Regions from separate parts of the Homo sapiens genome. Here all the other regions are linked to region 1. Evidence: promoter capture Hi-C in 16 types of primary human blood cells and fetal thymus (Javierre and others, 2016). All regions are on one chromosome and are shown on one strand. The core of a region is centred on a gene start or on the middle of the fragment in contact, and the rest is flanking DNA. Distances in the headings are between cores, read along the strand shown. Region 1 holds the start of KIF27 (kinesin family member 27). Region 2 overlaps FRMD3 (FERM domain containing 3). Region 3 overlaps FRMD3 (FERM domain containing 3). Region 4 overlaps FRMD3-AS1 (FRMD3 antisense RNA 1).

The links. Contacts are between HindIII fragments. The CHiCAGO score rates a contact against its expected background, and 5 or more counts as called.
Region 2: a fragment that was not itself captured here is called in contact with the fragment with the promoter of KIF27 in region 1 in 1 of 17 cell types (M0 macrophages); the score reaches 5.3 in M0 macrophages.
Region 3: a fragment that was not itself captured here is called in contact with the fragment with the promoter of KIF27 in region 1 in 4 of 17 cell types (total CD8 T cells, total CD4 T cells, neutrophils and 1 more); the score reaches 6.8 in total CD8 T cells.
Region 4: a contact is called between a fragment that was not itself captured here and the fragment with the promoter of KIF27 in region 1, in 1 of 17 cell types (monocytes). The highest score is 6.5, in monocytes.

What each region holds. Positions count from the first base shown.
Region 1 is chr9:83,920,157-83,922,856 of GRCh38, reverse strand. It overlaps KIF27 (kinesin family member 27), which reads left to right and starts at 1,425. Exons shown (of 18, transcript NM_017576.4): 1 at 1,425-1,486. It overlaps LOC105376335 (serine/arginine repetitive matrix protein 1-like), which reads right to left and starts at 1,956. Exons shown (of 3, transcript XM_011519284.2): 1 at 1,596-1,956; 2 at 1,159-1,503. The coding sequence starts at 1,956. RefSeq lists enhancers at 25-529, 1,144-1,893 and silencers at 1,263-1,412, 1,443-1,822. The HindIII fragment of the contact is 5,103 bases long and covers 1-2,700 here.
Region 2 is chr9:83,298,320-83,301,019 of GRCh38, reverse strand. It overlaps FRMD3 (FERM domain containing 3), which reads left to right. Exons shown (of 14, transcript NM_174938.6): 11 at 1,834-1,908; 12 at 2,204-2,272. Among named protein-coding and RNA genes, the nearest start is that of FRMD3-AS1, 80 kb to the right of the region's middle. The HindIII fragment of the contact is 822 bases long and covers 859-1,680 here.
Region 3 is chr9:83,339,116-83,341,893 of GRCh38, reverse strand. All of the region lies in intron 5 of FRMD3 (FERM domain containing 3), which reads left to right. Among named protein-coding and RNA genes, the nearest start is that of FRMD3-AS1, 120 kb to the right of the region's middle. The HindIII fragment of the contact is 913 bases long and covers 963-1,875 here.
Region 4 is chr9:83,235,538-83,238,394 of GRCh38, reverse strand. All of the region lies in intron 2 of FRMD3-AS1 (FRMD3 antisense RNA 1), which reads right to left. Among named protein-coding and RNA genes, the nearest start is that of FRMD3-AS1, 18 kb to the right of the region's middle. The HindIII fragment of the contact is 4,774 bases long and covers 1-2,857 here.

The DNA of each region.
Region 1 (2,700 bases), core at 176-2,675:
CTCCAGAGGCTGAGGCAGGAGAATTGCTTGAACCCATGAGGCGGAGCTTGCAGTGAGTTGAGATAGCGCCACTGCACTCCAGCCTGGGCAACAGAGCGAGACTCCATCTCAAAAAAAAAAAAGGAACTGAAAACAGACATCCAAATATTGTATGTGAATGTCCATAGCAGCATGGAAACAGCCCAAATGTCCACCACCAGCTGAAGAATGGATAAACAAAATGTGGTATGTCTATATCCATACAATGGAATTTTTTCAGCCCTAAAAAGTCCTGATAGGGCCGGGCAGGGTGGCTCATGCCTGTAATCCCAGCTACTCCGGAGGCTGAGGCAGGAGAATCGCTTGAACCCATGAGGTGGAGGTTGCGTTGAGCCTAGATGGCGCCATTGCATTCCAGCCTGGGCAATAAGAGCGAAACTCCATCTAAAGGGCCGGGCGTGGTGGCTCACGCCTGTAATCCCAGCACTTTGGAAGGCCGAGGCGGGCAGATCACGAGGTCAGGAGATCAAGACCATCCTGGCTAACACAGTGAAACAAACCCCGTCTCTACTAAAAATACAAAAAATTAGCCGGGCGTGGTGGCACGCGCCTGTAATCCCAGCTACTCGGGAGGCTAAGGCAGGAGAATCGCTTGAACCCGGGAGGTGGAGGTTGCAGAGAGCCGAGATCACGCCACTGCACTCCAGCTTGGGCGACAGAGCGCGACTCGGTCTCAAAAAAAAGAAAAGAAAAAAAAGAAAAGAAGTCCTGATAGATGTTACAACATGACTGCATCTTGAAAACATTAAGCAAAAGAAGCTAGACACAAAAGGTCATATACTGAATGATTCCATCAATAAAGAAATGCCCAGAATAGGTAAAGCTATCACAGAGTCAGAAAGTAGATTAGTGGCTGGCTGGGGTTGTGGGGAGAGGGGAACCAGAAGGAATGACTGCTAACTGGTTTGGGGATTTTCTTTTGGGGTTATGAAAATGTTTCTGAACTATATACAGAGGTGATGGTTGCACAACACTGTGAATGCATTAAACGCCACTGAATTGTGAGTTTTAAGATGGTTTATGTTAGGCAAGTTTTACTCAATAAAAATAAAAATAAACTGAATTGGTAGCTAAGATATTGAAACACGGTGTGGAATCGTTCTCACTCATTTCACGAACCCGTAGAAAGATGCTTGCGCTCAGGCCTCACAGACCGGTCCCAGCGCGTTGGTGGGACACAACTCGGATTTGCAGGCAAGCCCAGGGGCCGGCCCTTTGCGGACTTCCTGGGGACGCAGGACTCCTGCGCGGCGGGCTTGGAGGCGTGGCCAGGATGGGGGCGGGGCCAGGACGCGGCATCCAGGAGAGGACGCGGCGGGAGGCGGGCTTCGCCGGTTGCCAGGAGAACTCGCGACAACAAAAGACGCGGACGGCGGCTGCGCGGTGTGGCAGAGCGAAGCTGAGGAGTCCAGCGCTCGCCGACAGGGGCCTGGGCTGTCCCGAGCCGGTCAGTGCTCGGCGGGCCTGGCGGGCGGTGCGGGGAAGTGGGGCGCCCTCCCTTCGCGGTGCCCGCCCTCCAGCCCGCCGCGCCCGCCGCTCCCGCGCCCCCAGCCGGCCGTTGGGACTAGTAGGCTCCGGCTTGGGGTCGGGGCCGCCGCGGGTGGGTAGCGGAGGGTGGGCGGTTGGGGCGCCAGCTAGGCCTATGGGGGCGTCCGAGGGGTCTGGGGTCGGGGCTGGGAGCCGGCGAGCGACTAGAGGCAGAGCGCCCCTTCCGGAGGAAGTTGGGTCAGCCCTGAGGAGCGGGTCCCGGGGAACACCGATCGACCGGAACGCGGGACCCGGCCTTTCAGAGCGCACCCTGTGTTCGTCTCGTGTCGCTGCACGGCGTGAGGTGCGACGCGAGGGCCACCACCACCGAGCGCTTTGTTTTATCGCAGGCGTCTTTTTCCCACCGTAGAGGTTGAAACTTGGGCGCATTTCCCACCGTAGAGGTTGAAACTTGGGCGCATTTCCCACCGTAGAGGTTGAAACTTGGGCGCATTTCCTACCGTAGAGGTTGAACCTTGGGCACATTCAAGCCCGAGAGCTCCCTCCCTCGGAGGCAGGTGACTATAAAGAGCAAAGCGCCCAGATTCTTTCTTTGAAACACCTTTTAAGTAACACCTTTTAAGTCTCCAGTGTTGAAAATCCTTGTTGTTTGCCCTTCTTTACTCTTTTGTCGTCTTTACGCATTTGGGGCCTTTTCTGAGCTCCGTATGCGATTTACTGTCCATCTACTGGCAAGTTTTTTATGAAAATAATTAACAAACCACACATTTAAGACAACCACTGCTTTCTGGGAAATCAAGGGTACGGGATGGCAACGGTTTTTGGAGACACTCATTCCTGACCAGTGACATGACATGAGGGATTCAATATTTCTCTTGCCTTTGCTCAGATTTCAAAAACCCGTTGAGTATACTTAAATACGACCAATCAGATTTTGCTTTTTTTTAAATCATTTATTGGCAACATAATACGTATGTTTCTGATGACTATAATTGATCAGAATCTGAAGTATAAGTGCTATGGATTGTGTAAAAACTTTATTTCTTGTATATTGATGTTTTACAAGCCCTATGTTTGTGGACCATTACTATTGTTTGTTTGTTTTGTTTTGAGACAGGGTCTCGCTCTGTTACTCAGGCTGGAGTGCAGTGGCACACTGCAGCCTCAACCTCC
Region 2 (2,700 bases), core at 20-2,519, 620 kb after region 1:
CTTAATATTTGTGTCCAGTGCCCTTCTGTGTCATCTTTGGCTGTTTACACAGGTGGTGGGAAGGGGCTTCTTTGCAAAAGATTGTTCCTATGGCTTTCCATTGTTCTCTCGATAAAGACCAAGATCCTTAACAAGGACCACTTAAGGTCTGGTCCTGGGAAATTGGATTCTGGCTCTCTGTCCAAGTTTGCCTTATTCTCCTTCGTACATCTGTACATTCACTTATCTTTATTAGGAAAGGAAAAAAAATATGTGTGTGTGTAGTAATAATAACATGGGAAAATGTGCATTGAGTCTTTTAAAAATGTATTTTATATATTTTTAAAAAATTTCAATACCTTTTGGGGTACAAATGGTTTTCAATTACATGGATGAATTATATTGTGGTAAATTCTGAGATTTTGGAGCACCTGTCAATTAGTGTATATTGCACCTAATGTGTAGTTTTTATCCCTGGCCCCTACTACCCTCCCCTTCTGAGTCTATAAAGTCCATTATATCACTCTGTATGCCTTTGCATATGCATAGCTTAGCTCCCACTTAGAAGTGAGAATATAGAATTTTTGGTTTTCCATTCCTGAGTTGCTTAACTTAGAATAATTGAGTGTTTTGAGTTCTCTAGATGTTTAGGCTGATGGCTTTGCGCCTGCTGGCCCTCTGCTGGGTATATCCACCACCACTTGCACCGTGCCCTGGTTAACACCTTTCAGCCTCTGGATCTCAACTCAGATGTCCCTTCCTCAGGGCATCTTCTCTGGCCCCCAGGCTAGATCAGCCATGTGTCTTTCTTGTACTTACCTTGGTGTGTAGAGCAGGGATGGCACTCAGTTAATGATTGCTGAGTGAATAAAGGAAGCTTCAAGAGGCTCAAGGGTGGGGATCACTGCGCTGAAACTTCCCTGGCTCCGTGCATGTCTTTGCTCAGGATGCTACAGATCATATTGATTTTGTCTGTGTGTGTTTAAGATTTTGTGACTATCAATATTTTAAACGATGCTGAACTCTCTGAGACCTGTTCTTTCTAACTTGTTGGATTTAATTGTACAAGGCTTAACATGACTGCTGTAGAGCCATCCTCAGCTGTCACAGTAATTTAGTGCCCTGTGTGCAGCCTTCCGGCAGCCCAGGCTCTAGGCTGCTTTTCAGAGTGTTGTTGTTTTGCTCTTATTTACGAGTAGGGCTCAGAGGTGCTGAATCAGTTCTTGTCTGGGCAGCTTCTGCCTCGTGTATCTTAGTCATCTACCACTGTGGGTTCTTTTAAAGGGCACTGGGTCATGGTGACACAGAAGCCAGTGACCATTCCTGTGGTGATGCGGGACCCTTGTTCCCTCACTTGGGCAATGCACAGTGAGTTCTTCGTGGCATAGTCAGTGACCTCTGTTGCCAGGAAGCTGTTTTCTGCCTCACTGTGGATACAGGAATAGGCAGCAAAGTGCCCTAACAACCACGAACTTCCTGATGCCATGTCACAAAATTCCCTCTTCTCCATATCTTCAGATAGAAATTAGGGGAGAATTCCTTCTGATCATCACTGCCCAGTCCTTTTTGCAGGTTGTGACCCACTAATGAATTATGAAACCCAGTATGTGGGTCATGAATTTAAAAAGAATGAAAGGAAATAGCGTAGAAAATATTAGAATGCAATACACATAGTGAAAGTAACTATTCTTTTGTGAAGCTTTTCTTATATTTTGTGTGCACAATGCAGGCTGAGTCACAAGGTAAATTACATTTCTTTCTTGCAGTAAAAATACCCCATCACCACACCTCTATAGCATGTTGTAAGTGGACTTTCCAATGTCCTAACCACCTGTGCTTTGCTTTTTCTTAAAGGTATGCAAAATCCAGTCAGATCAAGACTGTATCAAGCAGCAAGATATTTTTTAAAGGAAGTAGATTTCGATATAGGTGGGTACCAATGGTTCCATTTCAGTGAGGGGGTGGGGATGGGCAGCCACTTAAATTTCAAAATTCTGCTTGCAAATAAGTGGCCTTTGGCTTGTGCCTCTGTTTGAGTCTTCCATTTCTACTCCATTGCTGTCTTATGCTCACAGGGCACCCTCAAATTCTACCGTAATTTTCCCCCTCATGATTTCTATAGCTGGGTCAGACACCTGTGAAGTTAACAAAAGGACACTTGTGCATATCCCTCCCATTCTTCTCTGACTATGTGTGCATACACATGTGTTTCTGTCTTTTGCAGTGGGAAAGTTGCCAAAGAGGTGGTGGAGGCCAGTTCCAAGATCCAGAGGGAGCCTCCTGAGGTGCACAGGTGAGTGGATGATCACTGTGGGTTCCAGGTGGCTTTAAAAGCTGGCTTTTCCAAATCCCCTATAACATCCCTTTGTGTAGTGACATACAGCATTAAAGAAGGACATTCTCACTTCCTTAGACATCTCACTCAGACAGATTTGCCTGGGCCATGGCATGAGCACAGCTGGGCTCCACTTTGAGTTATGTGCTCTCAGGAGAGTCATTGATTAGGTCTGGAGCGTCACCTTAACAAGCAGGATGCTGTGCCATTGCCTGGGCAAACTCTGTCATCTCATCCTTTTAATCACCTGGCCAAACTCTGTCATCTCATCCTCTTACAAGTTCTCTGTTCCTGCCTGTATTCATCATATTTGGCCCGTTCCCATTGGCCTGACTCCGGGCTGACCTTTCATGGGGCCATTACTCTCTAGGGCCATGCAGAGGAAT
Region 3 (2,778 bases), core at 170-2,669, 580 kb after region 1:
CCCACCGCCCTCCCTGTGGGATGCTCTGTGCTGTGAAATAGTTCCTTTGATCCTGTTCTCAGTTGTGTTTGGTCTCTCTGAGAATTCCGAAATGGGTGTGTGTGTTGTTCTTCACCCCCTTCCCTGGGAACAGCTTCATCCTGGACAGCAGATTTTGGCAGAGGTGTTAAAACCCTTGGGTATTTTCCCATTTAAAGCACTATGGTTGATACTGTAATGGGAAACAGCCCCTTCACCGACACTGAAGTAGAGAATGTGTTTCTGAAAGCTGCCTCTCTTACCTTGGAGTGAAAGGACTGTAAATCCCATAGTTCCCTTCCTCCATGGTGAAGGCTGCACATCTTGAGTTAGGGTGCACTGTCTTAGGTAAGAGACAAGGGAATCGATACTAATCCAAGCAACAGACCAGCATATGAGGATTTCAGAATGCATTTAGGCATTAGTGAATTACCATCAATTCTCCAAGGACATGCTCAATATGGATCTATAATGGAAAGCTCGCCATCCTGTTTTCTGTTTGAAATAAAGCCACGGAGCCTCCATCCAGACGATCAGGGCCCTATTTTATCCCTCATTGCTATTATTACTGACCACACTCACACAGACACTGTGGAGAAAGTAGAGTGGGAAATGGACTGGCAGACCTCAAAAAGACCTTTTGGCTCTCAAATGCAGTGCTGTCTGTGGTCATTTATAGCAAATTCAGTAAAAGTGGTTCATAAAGGTCTGATTCTCGGGTGAGTACTTCGGCAGCACTGCAGGTCATTCACAAATACAGATATAGATGGGCATTTCAGAACTGCTTATTCTTACAGAGTAATAGGGAAGATGGAGTAAGTGATTAGCAATCTTATTCTTACAGAGTAATAGGGAAGATGGAGTAAGTGATTAGCAATCAGGAGGCACTGTCGCCCCTCATCGTCTTGTTTGCTAATGCTCTTTCAAGGAGTATGTTTTAAGCTTCAGTATATTCTGAGTTTATAAAAAACAGTCAATCAAGTTGGATGTGGTGGTGCACACCTGTAATTCCAGCTACTTGGGAGGCTGAGGCAGGAGGATTTCTTGAGGCCAGGAGTTTGATACTAGCCTGGGCAACATAGACAAGACCTTGTCTCCACAAGGAATACAAAACCAGTCAATCACCTGGAGTTTTGCTGCCTGTACATACTGAATCCAACGAGCATATTTAAGACATGCAATGCATTTTCTTTCATAATACAAATTGCAAAACAAACACAGAATCCTTGGGATCTATTTATATTCTTTCTTGGTAAAAATATCTTTCCTGTTCCTTTTACAAAACAACACCACAGAGGAATTCAACTTATCTCCTCTGCCTGGTATGTTCAACCCCTGTAGAAATCTTGACTCCTGCTGGATATTCAGAACTCAGTCCCGAAGTCACTTCCTCTGGTAAGTCTACCTGGACCACTCGAGCTAAAGCAGCTCCCTCCTGCACGTCATTCTTTCTCAGAGCCCTGTTGTGTTTTCTTGCAAACACTTAGATCTTGAGTTGTTTTTGGGCTTATTGTGCATTTCCTCTTATATAGAATCTAATTCCATGGGAGTAGGATCTGGGTGCTTTTTCACAGCACTCTTCCTGTGTCTGGCACACAGCAGGTTCTCCACTAAATATGTTAAATGAATCAGGGCACTTGCCTGAAATGAATCGGGGCACTTGCCTAAACTCCAGGTGATTGACAGGTTTTGTATTTTTTTGTAGGCAGGATCTCACTGTGTTACTCAGGGTGGTCTCAAACTCTGACCTCAAGCAATCCTCCTACCTCAGCCTCCCAAGTAACTGGGATTACAGGTGTGCACCACCACACCTGGCTTGATTGACTGTTTTTAATAAACTCAGAATATACTGAAGCTTCAAACTTGCCCTGATTAACCATGGTTAATTAAATTAGTCACAACCATTTAACGTTTAAATTTAACATTTCGTTAAATGACTGTGCCTGATTCATTTAACATTTAGTTAAATGATTGTGCCTGATTCATTTAACTATGGGAAAGACTGGTTGGCCGCCTGCTGGGATGGTATCACTACCTCATTCATTCATTTGTTCATGTGTTCTCCAAATACTTCCTGAGAAGTTGCTAGGGGGCCACATGGCAATACAAAGTTCCTGTGGGAAGATGGATAAGGAAACAGGCCATTGTGACCCTGCGTTGTTGGTTAGATGGAGGAACACACAGGCCCAGTCCCTGCTATGAGTGTCCCAGGAGGGCTCCTGACTTAGCAAGCATGGGTCAGGGAAAGCTCCTGAAGGAGTTGGCCCTGGAGCTAAAGGTCCTGCATCTCAAATTCTTTTGGAATGAGTCCTTTCCAAACCAGGGGAAAGCCTGTTGCTTTTTAGACTTACTGTTTCTGACCTTACTCACCCATTCACTTCAAACTCATTGGATTTTTCTCTTAGAATTGAATCCTTTTAGAAAAGTGCTAGAGCTGGTTTCAAACCGCAGGGCCTCCAGTTGTATGTCATTTGTCACGACTTCAACTTCCAAGTCATGAGCAGGAGGGAGAACCATGGCGGCTTACCCAACTCCTCTTGGTATGAATAGCTAGAAATCTTTATTCATTTTAAAAAACCTGCCTTCTGCTTAAGGAGAGGTCAGAGTTAAAGACAAGCTTTAGGGAATCAGAGCAGGGCCTGTGATGGGGACAGTGTTAATCTTGTCAGCAATCCGGTGCAGTCTTCACAGCATTTCTTCTCTAACTTTTCTAACATTTGCAGTGTGTAGCATTGCAAGTCTATAATATCTCACAAGATT
Region 4 (2,857 bases), core at 13-2,512, 680 kb after region 1:
TTGATTAGAGAGGATGGTTTCTAAGGACAGCAAAAGCACTAGAGACAAAATAAAAAATAGGTAAATTAGATAGTAATAGATAAATTTAAAAACTTTTGTGCTTTAAAAGACACTGTCAAGAAAAGTGAAAAGACAAAACACTGAAGGGATGAAAATATTTTTAAATCATACATCCGATAATGAATTTGTACCCATAATACATAAAGAATACTTACAACTCAGTAATAAAAAACATAACCAATTTTTAAAGTAGGAAATGTTATCACAATAGACATTTTGGTAAAGGAAATATGCAAATGGATAGTAAGCACACGAAAAGATGTCCAATATCATTAGTCATTAAAGAAATGCAAATCAGTGCCACATTGAGATTCTACTTTACACCCACAAGAATGGCTATAATAAAAAGACAGGCCACGAAGTGTTGCTGAGGATGTGGATAAATTGAAACCCTCATATATTCCTGGTAAAAATGTAAAATTGTGCAGCTACTAGGCTGGGCGCGGTGGCTCACACCTGTAATTCCAGCACTTTGGGAGGCCGAGGCGGGCAGATCACGAGGTCAGGAGATCGAGATCATCCTGGCTAACACGGTGAAACCCCGTCTCTACTAAAAATACAAAAAATTAGCCGGGCGCTGTGGCGGGCGCCTGTAGTCCCAGCTACTCCGGAGGCTGAGGCAGGAGAATGGCGTGAACCCGGGAGGCAGAGCTTGCAGTGAGCCGAGATCGCGCCACTGCACTCCAACCTGGGCGAAAGAGCGGGACTCCGTCTAAAAAAAAAAAAAATTGTGCAGCTACTTTGGAAAACAGTTTCGTAGTTCTTCAAAAAGTTAAGCATAAGGTTACCATACAAGCCAGCAATTCCACTCTTAGGTATATACTCAAGAGAACAGAAAACATATATTTACACAAAAAAATGGGTAATTTTCATAGCAGCACTTTGCATAATAGCACAGAAGTGGAAACAACCCGTATGTCCATCGGTTCGTAAATTGCATAAACAAATGTAGTGTATCCATTCCATAAAAATGAATGAAGTATTGGTACACGCTACACCATGGATGAACTTTGAAAACATTATGCTAAGTAAAAGAAGCCAAAAGCAAAAGGCCATCTATTGCATGATTTGATTTATATAAAATGTCCAGAATAGGCAAATCTATAGAGACAGAAAGTAGATTAGTGATTTCCACGGGTAGGGAGAATGAAGAATGACTGCTAATAGGTACAGAGTTTCTTTTTTGGGTGATAAAATTTTTCTTTGAATTATGTAGTTGCGATGGTCGCATGACTCTGTGAACAAAGACCAATGAATTTTATGCATTATTTATGGTATGTTAATTATAGCTCAACAAAGCTGTTAGCAAAAATTATATTTGTTGTGGTTCACTATGTTATTTTTTAACATATTTTGTGAGGAGTACGAGTTGAGTAGCTTTATTATAACCAAGAACCTTTCCATTTCTATTTGTCAGCAAGTTTTGTCAGTACTTAATTCTATCAAAATGAAAAATAGATAATGCTGAACCCAGTTTCATTTTAGCGATAAGTAATATTTGTGCATAAAGATTAAATAATTTGATTTATACCATTGATATTTACTTCTAATAAATTTTTAACTTTTGTTCAATAGTTACTTAAGCTATTATGAAATAACTATTAATATTTTCTTATGAACTATGAATATTAATATTTTAATAGATTCTACAAAAACTATTAAAAACAAAAATTTTAATTTTTTTACACAAAATAATTTTGTGCATCATTATTAGTGCTTCTGTAAAAATGACAAAAGGCCAGAGTATAAAATTGCTGCCTAGGAGATACTGATATAAAGATAGAAGTAGCTGGCATATCTGGAACAGAAAGTCGGTGTAATATGATGGCTAAGAGCTCAGGCTCTCCAGCCAGATGGCCTCAGCTCTGGTCTCAGCTTTCCTGCTCTTCTTAGGTGTAACTTTAGGTAACTCATTTGATCTCTTGAATTCTTGGCATCCTCATCTTTAAAATTATGTTTAACTACAGCACTTATCTCAGAGCTGTTATGGAATTTAAAAATAAGTTAGAATTTGCAAATCCCTTAGCAAAGTCTTGGACATGTAGTAACTACTTGAGAAATGCTAGGAGTTAAGGCCCATAATCTGGCACCTCCAGGTCATTCTAGACTCATCGTAACCATTTCACTCTTTGAGGACATCCTGTTCTACTGAAGTAATAGCATCATGGTGGCAATGCATAACAAAATTGGATTTGGAAGTTTCAGAAGATATAACAAGAACCAGAATTTGCTTCTAAAAAACATCTATTTTTCTTCTACATTTATTTATAAACAAAACATCTCGTTGCCTATAACGTGGATACACATCCAAAATAGTAAGACATCAGAAAATAGAATACATCAAAATTCCTTTCAGGAGGAAACTGTGTTTGTAAGAAAGAAATGTTTTTTTCTAAGTTGTTCAAAGTAGGGAGTATATTGCAAATGTATAGTCAAGTTACAAATGCAAGGTCTCCTGATTTCTTTCTCTGCGTGACTTTCTTTTTTCTGGTCCTCTGTCCTGTGCTATTTACCTTTTGATAAATGTTCGATGTGGAAGTTGATTCTCAGAACCCTTGGCACAATAGCCTTGGTTACCCACATCCATTTCAAGAGCTCCTAACAGTTTGGAAACACTGGATCTTGCTTTGGGTGCAGTTGAATCTTCAACCCCTGTGGTGAGACCTATTTCTATGTAGATTAGAAAGAAACAATGATAGCACAGTGATTGCAAAGATGAAGAAACAGGATTTGAATTCATTTAATTTCACCATTCAGTGTGACTCAATCACAATTTAAAAATTTTTTAATTTAAAAT